Linked DNA regions of Homo sapiens: all the other regions are linked to region 5. Evidence: promoter capture Hi-C in 16 types of primary human blood cells and fetal thymus (Javierre and others, 2016). All regions are on one chromosome and are shown on one strand. Each heading gives the region's core, a stretch centred on a gene start or on the middle of the fragment in contact. The rest is flanking DNA. Distances are from core to core; before and after follow the strand shown. Region 1 overlaps FGGY (FGGY carbohydrate kinase domain containing). Region 2 overlaps FGGY (FGGY carbohydrate kinase domain containing). Region 3 overlaps FGGY (FGGY carbohydrate kinase domain containing). Region 4 overlaps FGGY (FGGY carbohydrate kinase domain containing). Region 5 holds the start of MYSM1 (Myb like, SWIRM and MPN domains 1). Region 6 overlaps FGGY (FGGY carbohydrate kinase domain containing). Region 7 overlaps FGGY (FGGY carbohydrate kinase domain containing).

What was found. Contacts are between HindIII fragments. The CHiCAGO score rates a contact against its expected background, and 5 or more counts as called.
Region 1: a contact is called between a fragment that was not itself captured here and the fragment with the promoter of MYSM1 in region 5, in 1 of 17 cell types (naive B cells). The highest score is 6.6, in naive B cells.
Region 2: a contact is called between a fragment that was not itself captured here and the fragment with the promoter of MYSM1 in region 5, in 1 of 17 cell types (monocytes). The highest score is 6.8, in monocytes.
Region 3: a contact is called between a fragment that was not itself captured here and the fragment with the promoter of MYSM1 in region 5, in 1 of 17 cell types (total B cells). The highest score is 5.7, in total B cells.
Region 4: a fragment that was not itself captured here is called in contact with the fragment with the promoter of MYSM1 in region 5 in 17 of 17 cell types (total B cells, fetal thymus, naive B cells and 14 more); the score reaches 28.2 in total B cells.
Region 6: a contact is called between a fragment that was not itself captured here and the fragment with the promoter of MYSM1 in region 5, in 1 of 17 cell types (total B cells). The highest score is 5.2, in total B cells.
Region 7: a fragment that was not itself captured here is called in contact with the fragment with the promoter of MYSM1 in region 5 in 6 of 17 cell types (total B cells, naive B cells, total CD8 T cells and 3 more); the score reaches 8.7 in total B cells.

Annotation. Positions count from the first base shown.
Region 1 is chr1:59,641,603-59,644,774 of GRCh38, reverse strand. All of the region lies in intron 11 of FGGY (FGGY carbohydrate kinase domain containing), which reads right to left. Among named protein-coding and RNA genes, the nearest start is that of MIR4711, 90 kb to the left of the region's middle. The HindIII fragment of the contact is 6,550 bases long and covers 1-3,172 here.
Region 2 is chr1:59,548,695-59,551,956 of GRCh38, reverse strand. The region is part of intron 7 of FGGY (FGGY carbohydrate kinase domain containing); the gene reads right to left. Among named protein-coding and RNA genes, the nearest start is that of MIR4711, 180 kb to the left of the region's middle. The HindIII fragment of the contact is 1,119 bases long and covers 1,136-2,254 here.
Region 3 is chr1:59,668,752-59,671,775 of GRCh38, reverse strand. The region is part of intron 13 of FGGY (FGGY carbohydrate kinase domain containing); the gene reads right to left. Among named protein-coding and RNA genes, the nearest start is that of MIR4711, 63 kb to the left of the region's middle. RefSeq lists an enhancer at 1,924-2,478. The HindIII fragment of the contact is 1,951 bases long and covers 326-2,276 here.
Region 4 is chr1:59,689,927-59,692,925 of GRCh38, reverse strand. All of the region lies in intron 14 of FGGY (FGGY carbohydrate kinase domain containing), which reads right to left. Among named protein-coding and RNA genes, the nearest start is that of MIR4711, 42 kb to the left of the region's middle. The HindIII fragment of the contact is 1,922 bases long and covers 615-2,536 here.
Region 5 is chr1:58,698,486-58,701,714 of GRCh38, reverse strand. It overlaps MYSM1 (Myb like, SWIRM and MPN domains 1), which reads left to right and starts at 1,653. Exons shown (of 20, transcript NM_001085487.3): 1 at 1,653-1,730. The coding sequence starts at 1,663. RefSeq lists enhancers at 1,479-1,888, 2,099-2,158. The HindIII fragment of the contact is 3,791 bases long and covers 1-2,908 here.
Region 6 is chr1:59,493,267-59,496,519 of GRCh38, reverse strand. The region is part of intron 6 of FGGY (FGGY carbohydrate kinase domain containing); the gene reads right to left. All of the region lies in intron 2 of LOC124904192 (a long non-coding RNA gene), which reads left to right. Among named protein-coding and RNA genes, the nearest start is that of FGGY, 200 kb to the right of the region's middle. The HindIII fragment of the contact is 774 bases long and covers 1,200-1,973 here.
Region 7 is chr1:59,569,920-59,572,957 of GRCh38, reverse strand. All of the region lies in intron 8 of FGGY (FGGY carbohydrate kinase domain containing), which reads right to left. Among named protein-coding and RNA genes, the nearest start is that of MIR4711, 160 kb to the left of the region's middle. The HindIII fragment of the contact is 640 bases long and covers 1,028-1,667 here.

The sequences.
Region 1 (3,172 bases), core at 559-3,058, 940 kb before region 5:
CAATCTCTTGACCTCGTGATCCACCCGCCTCGGCCTCCCAAAGTGCTGGGATTACAGGCGTGAGCCACCGCACCCGGCCTATATTCATCTACCTTTATGTGTGACCATGTCATTTTCTTACTTTAAAAGTAAGCATTTTTCTTTGGGTGGGGGGGGGCGTGTCTGTCTTGTTTTTAATGAACCTAAAATCATCAGCGCTTACTGTTTTGAGACCGACTGTTATTACTTAAGATTCTGCTTCTTTTAAATAATCGTATGTGTAGCCCTCACCTTTCTGTGCTTCATTTATCAACTGGAAAGGAGAAATGTTTACATAGTGGGGTACCTAGTCCAGCCATGCTATTAGGCTGCTCATCCCCCACCTCCTCCACCTCTCTTTAGTCCAGTGCTTCAGGCTGATATTGTATCATCAAAAGAAAAATGAAACAGCTAGTCACATGATAGGAGTCAACTGTTACCAGAACAAAAAGAAAATGATACTATCAAGCATAAGGAAGAGATTCCTGGGTTATGTCCTGTTCCTACTTACCAAGGTAGGCACCTAGTGTGGAAGGCATTAGAACCAGGTCAAACCACGAGTGGCTATTTTTTTTTAAATCTGAGTCAGTTAGGGTGGGAAGGAAACTAGTACCTTACTGAGAAGAGACAGGGTCAGAGTTTAAATCCAAAGACCATGGTTAGGGTAAAAGTGGGAGGACAAGCCACAAGGTTGGTGGTCAGAAGAACAGAAGAGCCAAGGACTAGCTTAAGGAACATGGTTCACTATGAAACCATGTATAATGCATGTTTAAACTCCCTTTCTTAATAGTCCTCCATGCGTTTTGCAAAGTCCAGAGTTTGCATCCTAAAAGGCAAGCGCTGCCACTTCTTGGCTTTGTGACTTTGGGCAGGTCACTGTTCATTCCTCATTTGGCAAACAGTGATTGAAATAACTGTTTGACCATAAGGCAATTATTTGGTGCCAGCTTCTGACCTAAGAACTGTTGATATTTTAAAAAGTAAATAAGCCATTGCTCCTATCCTCAAAATGTTTTTCCTATAGAGTAAATTTAAAACATATGTTATGTCTTATGACAGCCTTGATCTTATTTTCTTCAGTGAAAATTATACTCCCTATTGCTTTCAATGTAGGTTTTAATTCTTTGATTGCATTTTTAGTTGTCTTGTGGTCTTTGCCATTTCCCCCTTTTTCTCATTCCATTGTCCTTTCATCTTAACTTGTTCTTTCCTAATAAGTTTCTGGCCTATTTCATAGAGATATGCCTTGAAACAAAATTTCTGGCTGGGAACAGTGTTTCATGCCTATAATCTCAACACTTTGGGAGACTGAAGTGGGAAGACGGCTTGAGGCCAGCAGTTTGAGACCAGCCTTGGCAACAGAGTGAGACCCCATCTCTACAAAAAAATATTTTAAAAATTAGCTGGGCATGCTGACATGTGCCTGTGTAGTCTTAGCTACTTGGGAGGCTGAGATGGAAGGACTGCTTGAGCTCAGAAGTTCAAGGTTACAGTGGGTTCTGATTAGGCCACTGCACCACTGCATTCCAGTCTGAGTGACAAAGAGCAAGATCCTGTCTCTTAAAAAAAAATTAAAAATATTCCATTGAATATACCACAAAGTTCTCTAACATTTTCTTTTGGTTTCAGTAGTAAATAATTTTCAAGAGGGCTTTCCTTTAAGTGTTCACAATGGTATTTTTTTCTTTGTATGTAATGGTTTTTCTTTTTTTTTTTTTTTTTGAGATGGAGTCTCACTCTGTCACCCAGGCTAGAGTGCAGTGGCGTGATCTTGGCTCACTGCAAGCTCCACCCCCCAGGTTCTCGCCATTCTCCTGCCTCAGCCTCCCGAGTAGCTGGGACTACAGCCACCCGCCACCATGCCCGGCTAATTTTTTTGTACTTTTTTAAGTAGAGACAGGGTTTCACCATGTTAGCCAGGATGGTCTCGATCTCCTGACCTCGTGATCCATCCGCTTCGGCCTCCCAAAGTGTTGGGATTACAGGTGTGAGCCACCGCGTCCAGCCGTATGTAATGGTTTTTCTAAGGGGCCATTATTTTTCAACATTTACGCTAACTAGACAGGTACACATGTTCAGTATTTCCCAGCATACAGTACACATGATTTGCTCTTTTTTTTTTTTTTTTTTTGAGACGGAGTCTCGCTCTTGTCACCCAGGCTGGAGTGCAGTGGCACAATCTCAGCTCACTGCAACCTCCGCCTACCAGGTTCAAGCAATTCTCCTGCCTCAGCCTCCTGAGTAGCTGGGATTACAGGCGTCCACCACCACGCCCAGCTAATTTTTGTATTTTTAGTAGAAACGGGGTTTCACCATGTTGGTCAGGCTGGTCTCGAACCCCTGACCTCATGATCCAACTGGCTCGGCCTCCCAAAGTGCTGGGATTACAGGCGTGAGCCACCGCACACAGCCGTGATTTGCTCTTATCCCCACTCACTGTATACTTAAATTTGTCTCTTCAGATCTACAGCTAAATGCCAGTTGGCAGAGTACAGCAGTTTTTATTTTCTGTAGCTTTGTTGGACTGAGGTAGATCAGCACTGCCTGGCTTTCCGAGCCTAGAACTAGTAGTGCAAACTACACCCTTCCTCCCAAGTTTACAGAACTACTAAGGCCTTTCCTACATCTGCCCCATTAACAGATGCTTAGAATGCAAGCCATCACCCTTCCTCCTAATTCACACTTCCTGCTTGGGTGGATTCTTGAGCTGGCAGTTTTCAAATGGAATGAACTGAAAGAGTGGCTGGGAACAGGGTTGTGGGGGGATCTAGGAATTTAAACTCACTGGCTGCTTTCCAAAAAGAAAACAAAAAACCCAACCATTAGCAGTAAAGTAGAGGAATAGCTATGCTGTTTTCAGGTTTAAAAGAACCTTGTGCTTTTATGCAAGGGAGCAGAAGGTGGCGAGGTCCAAACTGTTTCCACAGTGGATCACACATGACTTTGTTCTTATGTCATATATGATGTTATCAAACAAGTTGCATTCATCATATAATTGGGAATACCAATTCTAGTTTTCCTAGTTGAACACCATCCTAATTCCTAAGGCCTGCATGAATTCATGACTTTTTTGCATTTTTACAAATATTTTCAAGAGAAGCAGAAAAAGGCTGCATCAGGGTTTGCTAGCCCAATGCCACATAAAAACAATTTC
Region 2 (3,262 bases), core at 446-2,945, 850 kb before region 5:
CAATTAGAGTGGTTTGTGTTTTGCTGAGTGAATCCTGAGTGACACGATTCTCCATTCAGGGCACAAAGGCTTTTGTACAGGAATAACCCAAGATATGAGCTCATTTTAACTGAGCTCTTTTTACATGCTCTTTCTATACATGTCTCATTTTATTCTTACAACAAACTAATGTCATTGGTATTAGTATTATCCTCATTTTATGGATAAGAAAATCGAAGCTTAGAAATGAGTAGTAACTTCACCAGGGTCATGCAGCTCACAAGGAACTGGGCTGTGATTCACATTCAGGTAATCTGATTCCAAAGTGCTGGTTCTTCCCCACCAAGACTCACAGGTTTTTCTCTAAGATAAAAATCCAATAGCCAGGCAACCAATGTTCACTTATCTGTACATCTCAAAATCTTGGGATCTTAAATATATTGATTCTGAGATCCTTGACAGAAAAGGAGTTGGCCACGCTGCTCCACAGTATCATAAATAGGTTCAAGGAATTCCTGAGAATCACCCACATTTACTGGTTGCATAAACATAAAGTACAGGCAAAGTTAATGTTACAGGGTCAGTCAATACGAAAAGGGAATTAAAATGAAGGAAAAAGAAATGTGTAGGAAATATTTATTTGTTTCTTCTTGGGTTGGCAGATTCACTGCTGCTATATCTAGACTTAGAACCTGAGAACTAGTGTGCTATTATGAGAAAAGGATGGAATTTGGAGACAGAAGGATCTGCTATAAAATGAGGAAAATCACAACATCACATGGTTGTTGTGATATTGCAGAAATGCTTAAAAAGAGATGTTTAATGGTAGCTCTGTCACCATCATCACTACCATCACTCTCTCCACCACCACCATCATCACCATCATCATCATCTGAACCCCCTCTCAAGAGACAACTGGATTCTTCCTTTCTAGTAAACATATCAACATCAAAGATAGGCTGGGTACTGTGCTGAGCTCCTTGAATGTTCTCTCATTTAATCTTTGCAACATCCATAAAAGGTAAACATTCTTTCTTCCTCTTAATAGATGCAGAAGTAGAAGAACAGAGCAGAGTGTTCAGGTAACTTGCCCAAGGCCACATGGATTTAAGAAGCAGTGCCAGGATTTGACCTTGTTCTGTCTGACTCCAAAGCTTATGTTCTTTCTATACTCCTCACTTTATGATGTTATAATTGTCTTACATAATGAAAACATACTTGGAAGTGCTAGTTCACCATGAAACTCAGTGAGAGCCATGGGCTAAGAGTTAGAAAAACAAGAGTTTCAGCCCCAATTCTGCCACAAATGGCCTAAAAGTTTGAACTGGTTCTCTCATCCCCACAATGAGAGAAATGAATTACAAATGGAGGTCCTTCCTCAGCCATTCTCAGTATATACACAGTGCTTCTCCTAAAATACAAGCTGAGGTATCTCCTTACCTAAAATTATATATATTGGGCAGGACTGGCCTCATTTCCCCTCAAGAGGTTCTCTACACTCTGCCTAATGTCCACCCCAATTCAGCAGCCATGCATAGCTGATGTTCACTGCAAGACCACATGAGTCGGAGAGCTGACATCTTATTTTTCCTTTGGCCACACAGTGCTTTGATGGGCTATCCCCGAGAAAAGAGGTTCAGAGATAAGCAGGGAAAAGCAAGAAAAGGTGGGAGGAGCTTTCTTCTTTCCGGAGAAACATATTTTGCCATCCACAGAGAACTCACAGGCTGCATGTGTACATCAGGAAACAATTTGACACAAGTGCAGCCCTCGGTACCGCTGGGGCCCTTCATATGACCATACCAGTGTCAGTTTATTCTGCAATCCTCAAAATGTTTAAGGAGAAAAATTAGCAGATGAAGAAACAGGCATAAAAAAACAGTGACATCATCAACTGTGTTTTCCCTGAAACTTGCACAATGCCCAACTGATGGCAGTTGCTCAATAAATGTTTGTTGAACTAAAAAACAAATAGCAGAAAAACAGGCTAACTCAATGAATTAAATGTCTCCCAACCCTCCATGTAACACACATAGTTCATATCAAGCAATGTTTAAAAAGAATGTTAAAAAAGGAACATTTAAAACTTCATGAACAGCTCTCTTATTTAATATGCTGTCTCCCTTCATCTCTCCCATTCATCCAACCAACAATACTTCCACCCAAGCATTGAGTCCCTACTATATTTATGTAAAATAAAAAAGAGACTTTGCAAATGTTATGATTAAGAGTACATTTTCCTATAATTTATCACGCTGTGGCAGTTTTGAAAGCTTACAAGGTTATATAGAAGAAAAACATCCTGAGTTCTCGCATTTGTGTTATAATTATCTCCCACTTTATAGCCATATAAAGTACTTTATAGCTTGCAAAGTATCCTCAAACACTGTAACCTTCAATTAGTCCTTAGAAAATCCTGTGATATGTGTATTTTATTTCCAGTTCACAGTTGAAGAAATTGAATTTCAGAAAGGTGAAGTAATTTAGTCGAGTTTATTTAGTAACTTAGAGGTAGAAGTTGGACTCAACTAGGATTTTCAGTCTTTGAGTCTGATGTGTTGGCATCTTGAAAAAGATTCTCTTTTAATAACCTCAGGCACCTTCTCTGAAGTATCAAAAAGGATAAGAAGGGTTTTGAACATTATTTAAGACTACATCTGTTTGAGACTCTTGATTCAGTCATTTGGATGAATGAACTGACTGATGAATCCCATCCAGTGAGTTTCTTGCCAAAGCTGGCTGGGAGGTTTCTGGAGTTCCTGGAGAGGAAGGGCTCCAGAGAAGACTCTCTAGTGACCACCAGCTTTATACATGCAAATTGACAACTGTATGCTTCTGGAAGGATAAGAATCATATCAAAGACGTGTTCTCTGCAGAAGACTTAACACCAGACTACATACACGCAGACACTGAAGTCCATTATTTTGACTAACATTCATTTATGTTAAACAGAACACAATATATTGAGTTAGTATTATGGCACAGTGCTTAAAAATAAGGACTCATTCATCATGTGATTTCTTATCTTCTTTATGTTTCTTATCTTCCTTATGCCTCAATTTCCACATCTCTACAATATGAATAGTATCCTCCTCACAGATTATAAAAATTATATATGTTAATATAGGTGTAAAGTACCCATAACAGTGCTAATAAGAGCATTCTGTGATGATGGAAATGTTCTATATTTGCACTGTCTGATACAATAGATACCAGACACATGTGGCAATTGAGCCCTGAAAATGTGGCTAGTACAACTGAGGACTGAATTTTTTATTCTATC
Region 3 (3,024 bases), core at 52-2,551, 970 kb before region 5:
TCTGAAAAATGGGGTTAAAATTCCGCCTATCTCATAGAGTTGCTGTGAGAATTAAAACTGCTATTATAATAAGGCTCTTAAAATGGTGCTTGGCTTAGAGAAAGCACTAAATTAGCATTAGTTGTTATTCTTAAAGTTTACCTTACTTCTGAAGTCTCTCCTCACACCTGTTACCCAGGGTGAAATCAATCCACTGCTTCCATTTGCCTCTAAGACCAATCCCACCTCTTCCCTTCCTCCCTCCACCTACTCTGAGCCTGGGAGACTGGCCAGTGGGGATCACAGCTGTGGGCCCCTGCCCTCTGGTTTCATCCTTGGCTAAGCTTCTGCTGGGCTGCCCTCTTCACACATCCCACCAGGCTCAGATTGCCTGCTCCCTACCCTCACCCTTGTGAGCCCAGGGGTGGAAACACTGTTAGTATCCCAAGGTACTTCTTGGTTGTCTGGGCTTCCAGCACCCTGCCCACAGCTCTGTACACTGACTATTCAACTTCCCTCCGGTTAACCTAACTGGAGTGTGTATCTGTTCCCTGCCTGGACCTGACTGACACCGACACATTTTGTCCTCTGGGTCCCCACTCTACTCACTCTGGATATTGGTCATAAGACCAAGGGCACTTTTTCTGTGTTTTATAAAGAACCTCTTGGCTGGACATTACTGTTCTTCTTAGCATCCCTGTGCCAACCTCAGGGCTTGGCACACTGGTGTGCACAGAGAATGCTTTTGAGTGAATAAATGAAAGAACAAATAATTAAAATAATGAGTAAGACCAGAAGAGGGAAACCCCTACTGAAACTACCAGTACTAAAAAATAAAACTTAGAAGAAGGAACATTTAGTCCCAAGTCAGTGGGGGAAACTTAACAATTACTTAGTACATACCAAGTATTTCTTGAAACCACAGTTAACCAAATGACCAGGGTACAAGGAGGTTCTTCCTCCTCATGTAGACAGCATTTCCCAAGCTGGCAAGGCCCCGCTCTCCCTGCTTGTACAGAGCAGGCTGTTCTCAACATGGCAAAGATTCACTTTCAAAATAATAAGCTGCTTTTTTTTTTCCCTCAAATGCCCCTCTTTCTTTTTGGCATGGGGCTTCCTAGATGGAATAAGAGAATTGACATTTACTGATCACCTACTTGGACTAGGCACAGAGTTTGATGCTCACAAACTCGCAAGCATTTATTCCTCAGCAGTGATCTACATGAGGGAGATGATAATGTTTTTTGGTTTGTTTGTTTCAGAAGAGGGAACTGAGGCTCAGAGAGGTAAAGTAACTTGCCCAAAGTCACAGAGCTGATCTGCTTTTTCCACTGTTCCACACTATCTCCAAAAAAATCTCCCAAATTCGAATGTGTTTTTCACATGCATTTCTGAGAATCATGTTCCAGGTCTACAGTCCTCCCTAACTGTCTTTGTAGGAAAACTAGAGCAATACAATGTTTAAAGGCACCAATGACACTACCTCTATACTGGCTGCTTGTGTACGTGCCTTTTACAGGGACAAATGCAAATGTGTTCTTTTCTCTGAGTCCTGGGTGAAGGAGAGGAAGAGGGCAGCTTTGGCTGGAATGTGAACTATTTTATCTGATGCATTAATGAGTTTAGCAGAACCCAAAGCATTCAAAGGCAGATGCACTTTGCCATCACTTGTCAGTCACAGGCTTCCAAAGGCAGAGGAATTCCAGGCTAAATAAAAGGTCTCTTTGTCTGGAACTGTAACTGGTCCATAGTTAGAGACAAAAGGTCCAGTTTCAATCGGAATCCAAATAACGATTAACAGCCTTTTCATTCAACAGCCTAGAGGAGAACAGTTTCCAAAGCAGAACTTTCTGTGAAGCCGCTGCACTCCCCGCCGTGCTTCTGAGTCAGCCCAGGGATGTAGGGCCTGGAAGATGACCCATTTTCACAAAGTCCAGGGCTGCAGCGCGGAGTCAGTGCCGGGGTCACTCACAGCTAGCTGTTCTGCTCTGGGAGGCCCTGTTTCCCATTTTCTAGAGTACTGTGTTCTCCAAAGCTGACTTTCATCTTTCCTCTTGCATCCAGATAGGAAGTTTTTTGGCTATCAGAAGGCTGGAAATTGGGGCCGGGTGCGGTGGCTCATGCCTGTAATCCCAGAACTTTGGGAGGCCAAGGCGGGTGGATCACTTGAGGTCAGGAGTTCAAGACCAGCCTGGCCAACATGGTGAAACCCTGTCTCTACCAAAAAATACAAAAAAAAAAAAAAAAAAAAAAAAAGAAGTCTAGAAATTGGAATGTCACAGATCAAATTTTAAGCTTGAATGTTATCTGAACTAGCCAGCTGATTTTTAGATAAAATGTTATGGTTTTTCTCCTGAGGACAATTATAAGGCAATCTGGGCTCTTTTTATGTCTTTCCTCCTTCTGCTTTGAACGGCCCACTTCTATAGGGTTTTGGACATCTCAGGAAAGTGGCGTCATCATCAACTGGTTACAAACTTGGCAGAAAAGTCAAGAAACCTGGGTCAGCAGTACAGTACAAAGGGACGGTGGGCCCCGACACACCACAGTTACAATATTGGTCCTGCCCCATACTGGCTGTTTGACTTTAGATAGCCAATTTAATTCACCTACCCACCCATCAACTTGCTTGTCTGTAAGATGGGGGCACCGATTTCTACCTTTGGTGGTATGGGAGGATTAAGTGTCTACAGCGTGATTCACACTGACACATAGTAGGTGCTTGGTTAATGGTAATACTTTCTATACTTCACATCCCAATAGTTCTGCCCTTAGACTGTATGCTTTTTTTTTTTTTTTTTTTTTGAGATGGAGTTTTGCTCTTGTTGCCCAGGCTGGAGTGCAATGGCGCAATCTCGGCTCACTGCAACCTCCGCCTCCCAGGTTCAAGCAATTCTCCTGCCTCAGCCTCCCCAGTAGCTGGGATTACAGGCATGCGCCACCACGCCTGGCTAATTTTTTTTTTTTTGTATTTTTAGTAGAGATGGGGTTTCTCCATATTGGTCAGGCTGGTCTCGAACTCCTGACCTCAGGTGATCCGCCCAC
Region 4 (2,999 bases), core at 326-2,825, 990 kb before region 5:
GATGCCAAGTCCAGAGTTTCTTCCACCCTTGAAAGATGGGTCTCTCCAATATGACCATAGCATGATTAGTCTAGCCGCGGGAGAGGAGAGAGGTTTACAGCATCAGCTTGGCATTCAGTTGGCGTGGCTTTTAAAGTGGCTCAACATCTGCCATCAATTAGACTTCCTGTTGCTATGGTGATAGTTTATTATTGCTAGGCTGATAAGACGGCCCATGCAAGAAGACTATCTTCCTCTTTTTCCCTCCCACTCTACAGCAAAGTTTCTCCCCCAACTTTTTTTTTTTTTTTTGTCCTCTCATCTAACATAGTGGACCATTTGCCATATGATAATGATATAGTAGTTCCCAAATTGGGAACCCTGTTGGACTCCTGATGATAATCCTTGGAGTTAATGAGAATTTTTTTTCCCTTTTGCTTAAAACAGAGGCTTTGTCACACCAACTTTGGTTCAATTCATCTCTGACACTTATTAGCTCTCCAATCATGAACAAGTTACATAATTATCTTCCCTGGACCTTATTTTTGCATTTGGAATAAGTGATAAGAAAGCCTAACGGGCAGAGTAATTTTGAGAATTTTATATAATAAATACAAAGATGTCAGCACCAAGCTTAGAATGTAGTGGGTAAACAAGAAATGACAGTAGTTGTGATATTTAACATAATAGCAATGATTATTTACAAAGAGGTGAAATGAGACAGAGATTTAGAGTTGGAAGTCCGGGTCATTTACTTCCATTCATGTATCAACAATTCTAATTTTTCCTTCCATTGAACCTGTTCTTTTCCTTTATAGCACTTAACCCAAGATACATTTATTTGTACTTATCTTTTTAACTGTCTCTTCCAGTCAACTGCAGAGGTGATCAGTATTAGGACTATAGTTATTTTTCTTATCGTTGTACCTTGGGGGTATTTGTTGAATGAATGAACACATATTTACCAAGCAGCTACTCTATGTCAGGCTCCTTGTTAGCCATTGGAGATACAAAAATCACTTGAGCAAGATTCTTACTCTTGAGGCATTTACATAAGGGGTCTGTGAAAATGACAAAAATAAAGTAAGTGAGGCCTTCATCTTTGAATCCAAAAGGGGTTTTTTACAAATCCAATGACATAAATGGAATTAAATCTTCAGTAATCTTCTAGCACAAAGGACGGATGTGGGGGTGTATGGATATCTTAAGGCTGTAAGTACCAAGAAGAATTCAAACTGGTAGTGTTAAGTCCCCAAAGTAATCAGACTTTCCCTTTGAAACATACAGTTAAAAAAAAAAAAAAAAGAAAAGAAAAAAAAAGAACAAAAAAGAAAGAGAAGGCTTTTCTGAGGGCCAGCTCGTTGACTCCTCCCAGAACAGTCTGATCCCCTCTGCTAGTGAAGCAAGAGGTCAGATCCCCAGACGGAAAATCAATCTCCAAGAGTGGCTGGATAGAATTTCTAATTCACCAGTGCCATGACACGCAGTCTGTTTTCAGCCAAGGAGAATGAGGCCCAGAGGCTTTAGCTTCCCCAATCCACTGTACATTATCAGGCTGAGCTGACACCCCTCCGTGCCTGGAACACACAATGTTTGACAGTAACACAGACAGGCACAGTGACCCCATGGTGAGGGCCCTCCAACCTGCTTTTCTCAAGGTAGGCTAGGCTATTTTGAAGTTACTTTATTATTGAATTATTAAGTATCATTATTAAACATTATAATATTTTCAGTTATTTCCTTTGGAAAGATCTAGTCCAGTGCTTATGTTCAGCAAAGACCCTCCAAGGCTGCCAGGCAGTGGGGAAAGAGGGTGTGATGGATAAGCCAGAGACACAGTTCACCTTCTGTTTTCTGTATTGGCCTCCCAAAGGTTCCACTGCTTTACATTTTTGAAAACCAGAATCTGATTCTTTCAGTTTAAAGATGAGGAAACTGTGGCCCAAAGAGGTAGACCTCTTGTTCCAGATCATCCACTGAGTTACTAGTAACAGAACAGACTCTAATGACTGGGGAGTCAGTCTTTGAAAAATTAGAGCAAGTGAGAACCGTTAAGCAGCAGTTTACAGTCACAGCTAATGTGCACAAGTAAAGTTGTTTCTGGAGACATAGGTCAGATTTTACCTGCTAGCGACTTTAAATCTAAGTCCATCCCCAGCAGTGCCACTGCTTTAAGTGGCTGGGTTTCTGTGTAACTAGTCACAGGTGGCTGCCTTCTTAGCCAGCTTCAGGAAGATTACAAAGTCTCTGTAAAACTTCACCTCCAGTCTGGTACAGCATACATGTATCCAGCACTGACTACTGGCTAAGGATCAGTAAGACTTGGACCCTTATATGGAAGCTCACACTTGAGTGAGATCAGCAAACATGGCAACATCTAAGGGCGGTGCAAGAGATGGGCACATGGGGGTAGGGCCGTGTAGAGGTGGGCCTCACCAAGATGAGTTTCCCAAAGGAGCTTTATAGAGATGGGTTTCAGTATTTACAGTGAACAGACCACAGAGTCAGAAAATCTGGGTTTGTATCTGAGCTTCACCTTTTACCAGCTATGTAAGCTTGGGAAAGCGCGTGGCCTCTTGGTGATTCAGGTTCCTTGTGTGCAAAGTACAACTAATATCAGGATCTCATGGGACCGTTGTGAGGACTAAGTGAGCCAATAACCACAAAGTGCTTAAATGGCAGCTGGGGCATACTAAATGAATCCCCTCTATCACTTTTAGGGGCCCCTTGAAGACAGGAGTCCCAGCACCCCACCATACTATAATATGTTGGAACCTCACTAAAGCCTGTTGTTTCCTAGTCATTGAAACACTTGCTTCAATTTCCATTTTAGGATTTTCTATAAATTTCTCCTCCAGCCTCTGTAGTGGTTAGTCAGTTTACTGAGATGAAGACAACTGCTGTAGTCCAATTATCCAAACCAGTCTGGTTTGTCAAGATCCCTCTTCATCAGAGACACTGACAGGTGAAACTGAAAGGGCCAACTTGGTAGGAATTTCACTGCCGTCAACTCTATCCAA
Region 5 (3,229 bases), core at 404-2,903:
AAATTGGGAATAGTGTGAGAAGTGAGGTCATTTAATTAATTAATTAATTCATTCATTCCTCTGTTCAATAGTTATTGAGCACCTGCTATGTGTCACTATGCTGAATATTGGTAGTGTAAGGACTAGCAGACGTGGTCTTTGTCCTTAAGGAATTCACAGTCCAGTGCAGAAGGCAGACGGATGAAAAATTACAAGGTGTGAGTGATAGCTGCTAAGGCAGGGGAATGCAGAAGGGTTTTTTTTTCTTTTCTTTTTTTTTGAGATGGAATCCCGCTCTGTCACCCAGGCTGGAATGCAATGGCGTGATCTCGGCTCACTGCAACCTCTGCCTCCTGGGTTCAAGCGATTCTTGTGCCTCAGCCTCCTGAGTAGCTGGGACTACAGTTGCCCACCACTACGCCCAGCTAATTTTTGTATTTTTAGTAGAAACGGGGTTTCACCATGTTGGTCAGGCTGGTCTCGAACTCCTGACCTTGTGATCCGCCCTCCCTGGCCTCCCAAAGTGCTGGGATTACAGGTGTGAGCCACCGCATCTGGCTGTCAGTATCTAATTTCTTGAGAAACTATAAACTAGACAGAAGTGGTGTTTATCCTCCAATTTCTAACAACATGATTGTTACATGGTGAGCACTCAGTAGAGGGTCAACAAAGCCTGGATTCTACTCCTGGCTCTGTCTTTGAAGCTACCTGTCCTTGGACAGTCATTTCAGCTCTCCAGGCCTCAGTTACCTCACCTGTAAAGTATAACTGGTGATATTAGCTCTGCCTACCTCACTGGGACACTGTAAGGATTAATGGTCATGAGCGTGATTTTTAAATTGCAAAGACGTCTACAAAATAAATTACACAATCATAAGTTATATTCTTAAATATTTGTTGAATTTTAAAATAAAAGTTGTTCAGCACTTAGGTGAAATGCTGAACGACTTCACATAAGTGCTGCACGACCCTTTTCTTTAAAAAACAAAGAGAGAGACTTAAATAACCAGCAGGTATGCAACCTTCAGTTCACAAAGCGGGTCTAGCTTGACTTTTTCATCAGTCCAGAAAGATACTGCTGTTATCCCCATTTTATCAGTGAGAGCAGTGAGGTCCCAAAGAATGTGTGCAAGAACAGAAGCTCTTAGAAGCTCAGGAGGGCCCGGGCGCGGTGGCTCACGCCTGTAATCTCAGAGCTTTGGGAGGCCGAGGCGGGCGGATCACCTGAGGTCGGGAGGTCGGGAGTTCGAGACCAGCTGGGCAACATGGTGAAACCCTGTATCTACTAAAAATACAAAAATTAGCCGGGCGTGGTGGCGCATGCCTGTAATCCCAGCTACTTGGGAGGCTGAGGCAGGAGAATCGCTTGAACCCGGGAGGTGGAGGTTGCAGTGAGCTGAGATACGCGCCATTGCACCCAAGCCTGGGCAACAAGAGTGAAACTCCCTCTCAAAAAAAAAAAGCTCAGGCGTGGGCCACTTCCCAAGGTCTCTACATGTCAACAAGTTAGAAAGGACCAAGCCCCAGGCCTCTGGGGGCGCCTTTGCTCTGGAAACCCCGCCTCCCGGCACGGGAGGGGCCGGACGACGCTTCAATCCCGCCCCGTGACGCGTTAGGCCCTGCCCCCGGGCCATCTTCGTCTCGCGGGATCTCTCGGGAGGACGGACGGGGTCAGGTCCCATCATGGCGGCTGAAGAGGCGGATGTGGATATCGAAGGGGACGTGGTAGCGGCGGCGGGGGCACAGCCAGGGTGAGGCTTAGAGACCGGGTCTCTCTGGGGCGGAGAGGGGAGTGGATTGAAGGAGCGGGCCCTGGGAAAGCTGCAGGTCCGGCAAGGGAAAAGGGAACAGAAGACTGTCCCCTGGGCCAGGGTCTCTTGTTGGCCTGGGAGGCACCTCGCCCGCCGGCTTGTCCCAAGCCCAGCGGGCAGGGCGGTTACCTGGAGCTCAGGTACTCCTGGGTCGCTTTCACCTTTTGCCGGATGCTGTGAGGGCACCGATTTCGCCTACCACATTGCGTTTGATTTACATTTAGATTCCTTCTTCCGTTCCCTCCTTTTCAGGATCTCATCGACAGTAACTAGAACAAGAGCGGCTACGGACGAGACCTGAGGTCAGGGACTCTTGTTCTATGGCTTGCTAGCCGTGTGACCTTGGGCGAGTCGTTTCATCCCTTCTTCCACATGGGGATAGTTGTAAAACTTCCCGAGAAGCAGGTTGACTTAAATGGGCCAGGTTTTAGAGTTGGACAGTTCTGGGTTTTCCTTCTGCATTTGCTCGCCCTACCAGTTAATAGCAATGTGACCTTGGGCAAGACACTTAACTTGTCTGAGCCTCAGACTGCTCATATTTAAACTGGGAGTCATGATATGTAATTGGGAGGATCAAATGAAATGATTATGAGATATGCTTTAGCATACGGTAGGTGCCCTCTGAATGTATTCTTTACCATCCTGTTACCCTCGGGGACAGTACTGTGAGAATCCAGTAAGGGATCACATTTTTTAAAATACCTGTTCCAGCAGAACAAACAGCCCAGTGTGATTTGACACAGAACCTCCTTTGACTCCTTGCTTTCTGAATCAAAAATGAGTCTCCTTTTAGTCATGAAGAGTCCTAGACTAGCCAGGAATCAGAAAGCCTGAGTTCTAAAGTCAGCCAGCTATGTTGTTTATAATTATGTACAATTTCCTTAGAACTGTATTAGCTTGAACCATATGAAATTGCCAATATTTAGACCATTTTTGTTCTATAAAGCGGCAACTTCATGTAGTTCAGCCTAATATTAGGGCCTCTGTGAACAGGGGAGAAGTACTAACCCAGCGCTTGAGGCACTAAGATAGTGTGTTTAGAAGTGTATCATGAACTCTAAAGCCCTATAAAGACGTGAGGGGTGATTAAACTCATATGGTCATTGTCCCTCAAAGCTTTGCAGATGAGTAGGGAGCCCTTAATAACAATACTTGTTGACATTCATTTAGTGTTTAAATCTTGACCAAGTGCTTTTGCATGTTTGATTTAATTTACTTTTCGCAACAAGTTAATGAAATAGGTTGGCAGGGATACTTATCTGCAGTCTAGAAAGAAATGAGCTGGCCTTGGAAACACTGAAGATTGGTCACCTGAGGGCATTGGCTGTATGCTTCTTCCATAGATTTATCTTTCTGATTGTGTTTCATTTTTCCCCTTTTCTCTTTCTTCCTATTTTAGTTGAGGCCTAGGTCTACTGGTGGCACTTGTGGTAACAAGC
Region 6 (3,253 bases), core at 337-2,836, 790 kb before region 5:
GCCCCAGTGTCTACTGTTCTCTCCTTTGTGTTCATATGTACTTGGTGTTTAGCTCCCACTTACCAGTGAGAATATGCAGTATGTGGTTTTCTGTTCCTGCATTAGTTTGCTTAGGATAATGGCCTCCAGCTCCATTCATGTTGCTGCAGAGGACAAAATCTTATTCTTTTTAATGGCTGTGTAGTATTCCAGGGTATACATGTGCCATATTTTCTTTATCCGGTCCACTGTTGATGGGCATCTAGGTTGATTTCATGTCTTTGCTATTTTGAATAGTGACACAAAAAATAAAAATATCTAGGAATACAGCTAACCAGAGAGGTGAAAGATCTCTACAACGAGAATTACAAAACACTGCTGAAAGAAATCAGAGATGACACAAATAAATGGAAAAACATTCCATGCTCATGGAAAGGAGGAATCAATATTATTAAAATGGCCATACTGCCCAAAGTAATTTACAGATTCAATGCTATTCCCATCAAACTGCCAATGACATTTTTCACAGAACTAGAAAAAACTATTCTAAAATTCATATGGAACCAAAAAAGAGCCCGAATAGACAAAGCAATCCTAAGCACAAAGAACAAAGCTGGAGGCACCACATTACCTGACTTCAAACTATATTCCAAGGCTACAGTAACTAAAACAGTATGACACTAGTACAATAACAGACACATAGATCCATGGAAAAGAATAGAGAGCACAGAAATAAAGCCACACACCTACAACAATCTGATCTTCAACAAAGTTGACACAAACAAGCAATAAGGAAAGACCCCTCCCCCCAATTCAATAAATGGTGCTGGGATAACTAGCCATATGCAGAAGATTGAAACTGGACCCCTTCCTTATACCACATATAAAAATCAATTCAAGATAGATTAAAGACTTAGATGTAAAACCTAAAACTATAAAAACCCTAGAAGAAAACCTAGGAAATACAATTAGGTATTATATACCTAATTGTATACCATATATAAAAATCATATATAAAATCAATACTCCATATATAAAAATCAATTCAAGATAGATTAAAGACTTAGATATAAAACCTAAAACTATAAAAACCCTAGAAGAAAACCTAGGAAATACCATTCTAGACATAGGCTCTGGCTAAGATTTCACGATGAAGATGTCAAAAGCAATTGCAACAAAAGCAAAAATTGACAAATGGGGCCTAATTAAACTAAAAAGCTTCCACACAGCAAAAGAAACTATCAATAGAGTAAACAGTCAACCTACAGAATAGGAGAAAATATTTGCAAACTATGCATCCAACAAAGGATTAATACCCAGAATATTTAAGGAATTTAAGCAAATTAACAAGCGAAAAATAACCCCATTAAAAAATGGGGAAATAACATGAACACTTTTCAAAAGAAGACATACAACCAACAAACATATGAAAAAGTGTTAATCATTAGAGAAATCAAAATCAAAATCACAATGAGATACCATCTCACATCAGTCAGAATGGCTATCATTAAAAAGTCAGAAGATAACAGATACTGGTGAGGTTGTGGAGAAAAGGGAATGCCTATACACTAGTGGTGTGAATGTAAATTCATTCAGCCATTGTGGAAAGCACTTTGGTGATTTCTCAAAGAACTTAGAGAACTTCTTTCTCAAAGAACCATTTTACCCAGCAATCCCATTAGTAGGTATATACCCAAAGGAATATAAATTGTTCTACTATAAAGAATTTTTGTTTCCTAAAAATCACCTCTAGTACCCCAAAGTGTACACTGTGGAATATGCTGCTATATTTTTCTGGCACTCTCTGCTCTTTCTTCCTCACCAGACCATAATTTCCTTGTGGGCAACAGTATTACATATTGCATTTCTGGTATCTACAACCTACCATCTGCTATACAGTAGATACAAAGTGAAAGCCAACAGAATGTTAAAAAGTAAAATCATCATTTCCCTTTGAAACCCCTCTAGTGGCTTTCTGTATACCTAGGAAAGCTTTGGCTGCTTTACTCCAAGGCTCACAAGGTTCTGCATTTTTTACACCTCTTACCCCATCACTTGTCCTTCCCCTTCCTCAGTACATTCTGCTAAACTGGTCTTTTCTATCTTCTCAAACATGCCAACCTTATTCCCAGCCCTGGGCCTCTGCTCCTGCTGTTGCTTCTGCCAGGAACACTCCTGCCCACATGTTCACACTGATTAGGCCATCTCCACATTGATGTCACAACTCTGAAGTCTCCTCCTTAGAGAAGCCTTCCCTACCCACATTTCAGCCAGCACTTTATTTCCATCATAACAATTAGCCACATTTGCATTTGTCTTGTTTATGTATATACTTGCTTACTGTCTGGTTTCTCCATCTCACATGGTAATGTGATGTAACCTTACTGTCTTGCTTACTGCTACCTTCAAGAGTGCTGGAATGAAAAAGGTGTTCTAATGCTGGCTAATGAAAGAATGAATCGAACTGATCTATGTATCACAGCAGATACAAACCCTGCCTTCCTCCCAGAACTGAATCAAACCCTAGGCTGCCAATGACTAGATCTGTGACCAGGGCAAGTGATTTAGCCCTAAAAAGGCTCATCTTAGCTGTAAACTAAGAAATAATAGATTTAATTTTAAGCAACACATTGAATACATTAATTAGTCTCTATCTCCCCCAAGAAGAGAATAAAATAAATGTAAAGTGGAATTATTTTTCATTGTTTTTAAAAATTTTTTAATTGTGGTAAAATATATGTAAGATAACATTTACTATCTTAACTGTTTTTATGCATACAATTCAGTTGTATTAAGTACATTCACACATCATGAAATCATTACAACCACCCATTTCTAGAACATTTTTCATCTTGCAAAACTGAAACTCTATATCCATTAAACACTAACTTCTCCTTTCCCCCTTCCCCCAAATCCCTGGTAACTATCATTCTACTTTCTATCTCTATGAATCTGACTACTCTATGTATCCCATATAAGAAGGATCATACAGTATTGGTCCTTTTGTGACTGCCTTATTTCATTTAACATAGTATCTTCAAGATTCATCCATGCTATAGTATGTGTCATAATTCCCTCCCTTTTTAATGCTGAATCATATTCTGTTATGTGTATATATCACATTTTATCAGTTCTGCCACTAATGAACACTTGGTTTGCTTCCACATTTTAGCTATTGTGAATGATGCTTTTATTAACGTGGGTGAACAAACATGTATTTGAGTCCTTGCTTTCCATTCTTTTGGGTATATGGCCAGAAATGAAATGCTGGATC
Region 7 (3,038 bases), core at 98-2,597, 870 kb before region 5:
GACCTTTCATAAGAGACAAGGGTAAAATATTTAAAACAACCTAAAAACAAAGCTGACAGTGCAAACCAAAAATGTTTCTCTCTAGTGAATCCAGTCTGTCCAAGGAATGCCTGAACGACTACTGCTCTCTCTCCAGATATCTCTACTCACTGGGGAGCAGCTCATCTTAGGAGTTTGGGTGAGATACCTAATAAGCCTCTATTGTGTTTGCCCTGCAGCCTCAACAGTTTTCACACCAAGGAAGTGCTGCTGATTTTATCTTCTAAACATCTTTCCAATATATCGACATCTCATCTCCCCCACCATAATCTGAGACAAGTTAGTATGATATCATCTCTCACACAGACTCCCAGTCTTCTTCTGGTTTCCTAGTATCCTAGTACCACTCAGGTCTCTTGCCAATTTGTTCTCCAAACTGGAATTATTTCCATCCTTTGTAATTCAATTATCTTATCCACTGTGCTTAAAACCTTTCAGTTTCTCTTACATAAAAGACTAAAATCCCTCAGAAGGCTTACAAGCCCAGCATATGCTACCCCTTTTTGCTTCTCCAGCCTTTACTTGTAGCATTCTTCTCTCTTGCCCCACACCAAAGCTGCCAATTTCCTTCTGCTTATTCTTCTGTACTCTCTTTCTGAACAAATTTTTTCTCTTGACCACTGCCATGCACAACCCTACTCCCTCCCCGTCAGGCTCTCTGCTTAGTTACCTAATCAAAATCTCCCAGCTCAAACATCACTGCCTTGCCTTCTAGACCACCCAAATTATATGGCACTTGGCTCTATGTTCTGATAGCTTCTCTGCTTTCTAGCACTTACATATCATACATACAGAGGAGTGTATAAAACTTATGTGAACATTAAAAAAACTGTTAAGTACTCATGTATCCTTCAGAAGCAAATGCTAGTTCCCTCAAGCTCTTCCTGAAAGCATCTTTTAACCTCAACAACCTGCAATTCCAAGCCATCTAATTCACCAGTGTCCTGATATTTGTGGTAATTATTCCCTTGCTTGTCTTTTCTAAGCTTAGTGCTTTTGTAGGCATTTTTTAAAAGACATTGTCTTTTTTGCTTCTTTTTGAATTTTCTATGAATGAAATAATTCTGTATGTATCTCTTTCATGTCTTGTTTCTTCCACTTAAAATTGTTTGATCCATCTATGTTGTCATATGTAGCTGTAGTTCCTACATTTTAAGTATGTCTACCACTGTATGAATATAATACAACTTAGTTATTCATGCTATTATTGATGAAATTTGAGTTGATTCAAATTTGTAGCTATTATAAAAAATAATGCTATGAATACTCTTGTACTTACTTGTCTCTGGGCACTTACTGGTACACAAGTACAATTGTTTCTCCAGCTTCCTACCTAGGAATGGAATTGGTAGAGTACAGGGCATGTGCACAGTCAAATTGATCAGACAATGCCTCACTGTTTTCCAAAGTGACTGCCCAATTTATACTTCCCCCAGCAGGGTATGAAAGCAAAGCACTTATCAAGGTCTGTAATTATACATTTTTGTAATTGTTTGCTGAGTATTCATCTCCTCCACTACACTGTACAGTCTAGGTCTACTGCTCACCATTTTCTCTCCAGTACCTGGCACAGAGTGAATGCTCTAAACAACTGGCTACATAAAATAAAGCAGTCTGGTAAGAAAGCTTAAGTCTTTTGGACATGAACACAGATCTGCCTAACTTTAACATCCATGTGTTTTCTACCAGACTACATTTTCCTTATTTCAAAATGGTGATGATCGTATCCTATTAATTATTTCCCAGTGTAATAGTAGTAATCAAATGAGATTACAGATGTCAATGCAATGAACACAGAGTACATATTAAGCATCACCAATGTTCCACTACTCTGCACCTGGACCCAGGGGTCCACAGATGGGGTATATGAAAGACGGCTGTCCATGACAAGTGCTTTTTGAATGTATATGGATTAAAATTACTTTGTGGAGGAAGATGTGGCTTCAAATATCATGGCAGGGAAAACCAAGGAGACCAATTAACGCTTTCAAATGCAAAGTGCACCTGTGTCCCAAATTATTCACTAGCACAAACAAAAGAAGCTCACTCCAAGACCTGATCAGAACAAACATTTTTGAATGCTTTTACCCAGGTGGCATCATCATCTTTCATCTGTGCCCAGGCTCAAGGAAGGGCTGGGTAGAGAGCTGGATTAAACACTGCACTTCAGCTTGGCACTGTGGGTTCGGAAGTAAACTCTGACTTCCTATTTACATTGAAAGATCTCAGGCCTTTGTGGTTTCCTGTTGCGTCCTGGTGTGTCTGCGTTCTGGTTTCTGGGTTTGTCTGCACAGAACTACAAACAGGATCTCTCACTGTTTCACTCCATCCTGCTTTCCATGAGAAAATAAGAATTCCACAATCTCTAATTGTTGGCAGATTCTACCAGGTACTTTGTCCAAGTCATGACTTCTCAGTATGTCTTACCCAGACCTACCAAGAGATATTTTATTTGAAAGGATGGAGATAAAGGGATTCCTCAGTGTGCTCCAAATCTGGCAGGAACTGACTGATTCTCAAACTTGTTTTCCTTCATTTTACATTAATTTTACATTTATTTACTTCACTCTTATATTCATCAAGTGTAAATTTAGAGTACTGTCTATGTACAAGGTGCTCTGCTAGGCACTACGGAAACAATGAAGTAAAGATATAATTGCTACTCTGAAAGAGCTTAAAGCAGTTTTTTTGAAAGTTTTCCATTAGAATCACCTGGGCACATGTTAAAATTACAGATTCTCATATATCCCTTCCAGCAAGACTTAGAGAATCAGACCCTGTGGGAGAGGGGCCTGAGGAATTGCATTTTTAAAACAGTTACCCAGGTATATTTTGTGCACATTAATTGACAGTCACTGGCTTGCAGCTCAATGGAGAATTCACAGTCACAATGGAAATTAGAGACAAGGAACCAGGAACTCTTCTGCAATGAACCAGACATTCACCAGCCGCAGGATCCTTCAATTTGAGTAAATGAAGATGAACCAAGGATTGCAAGA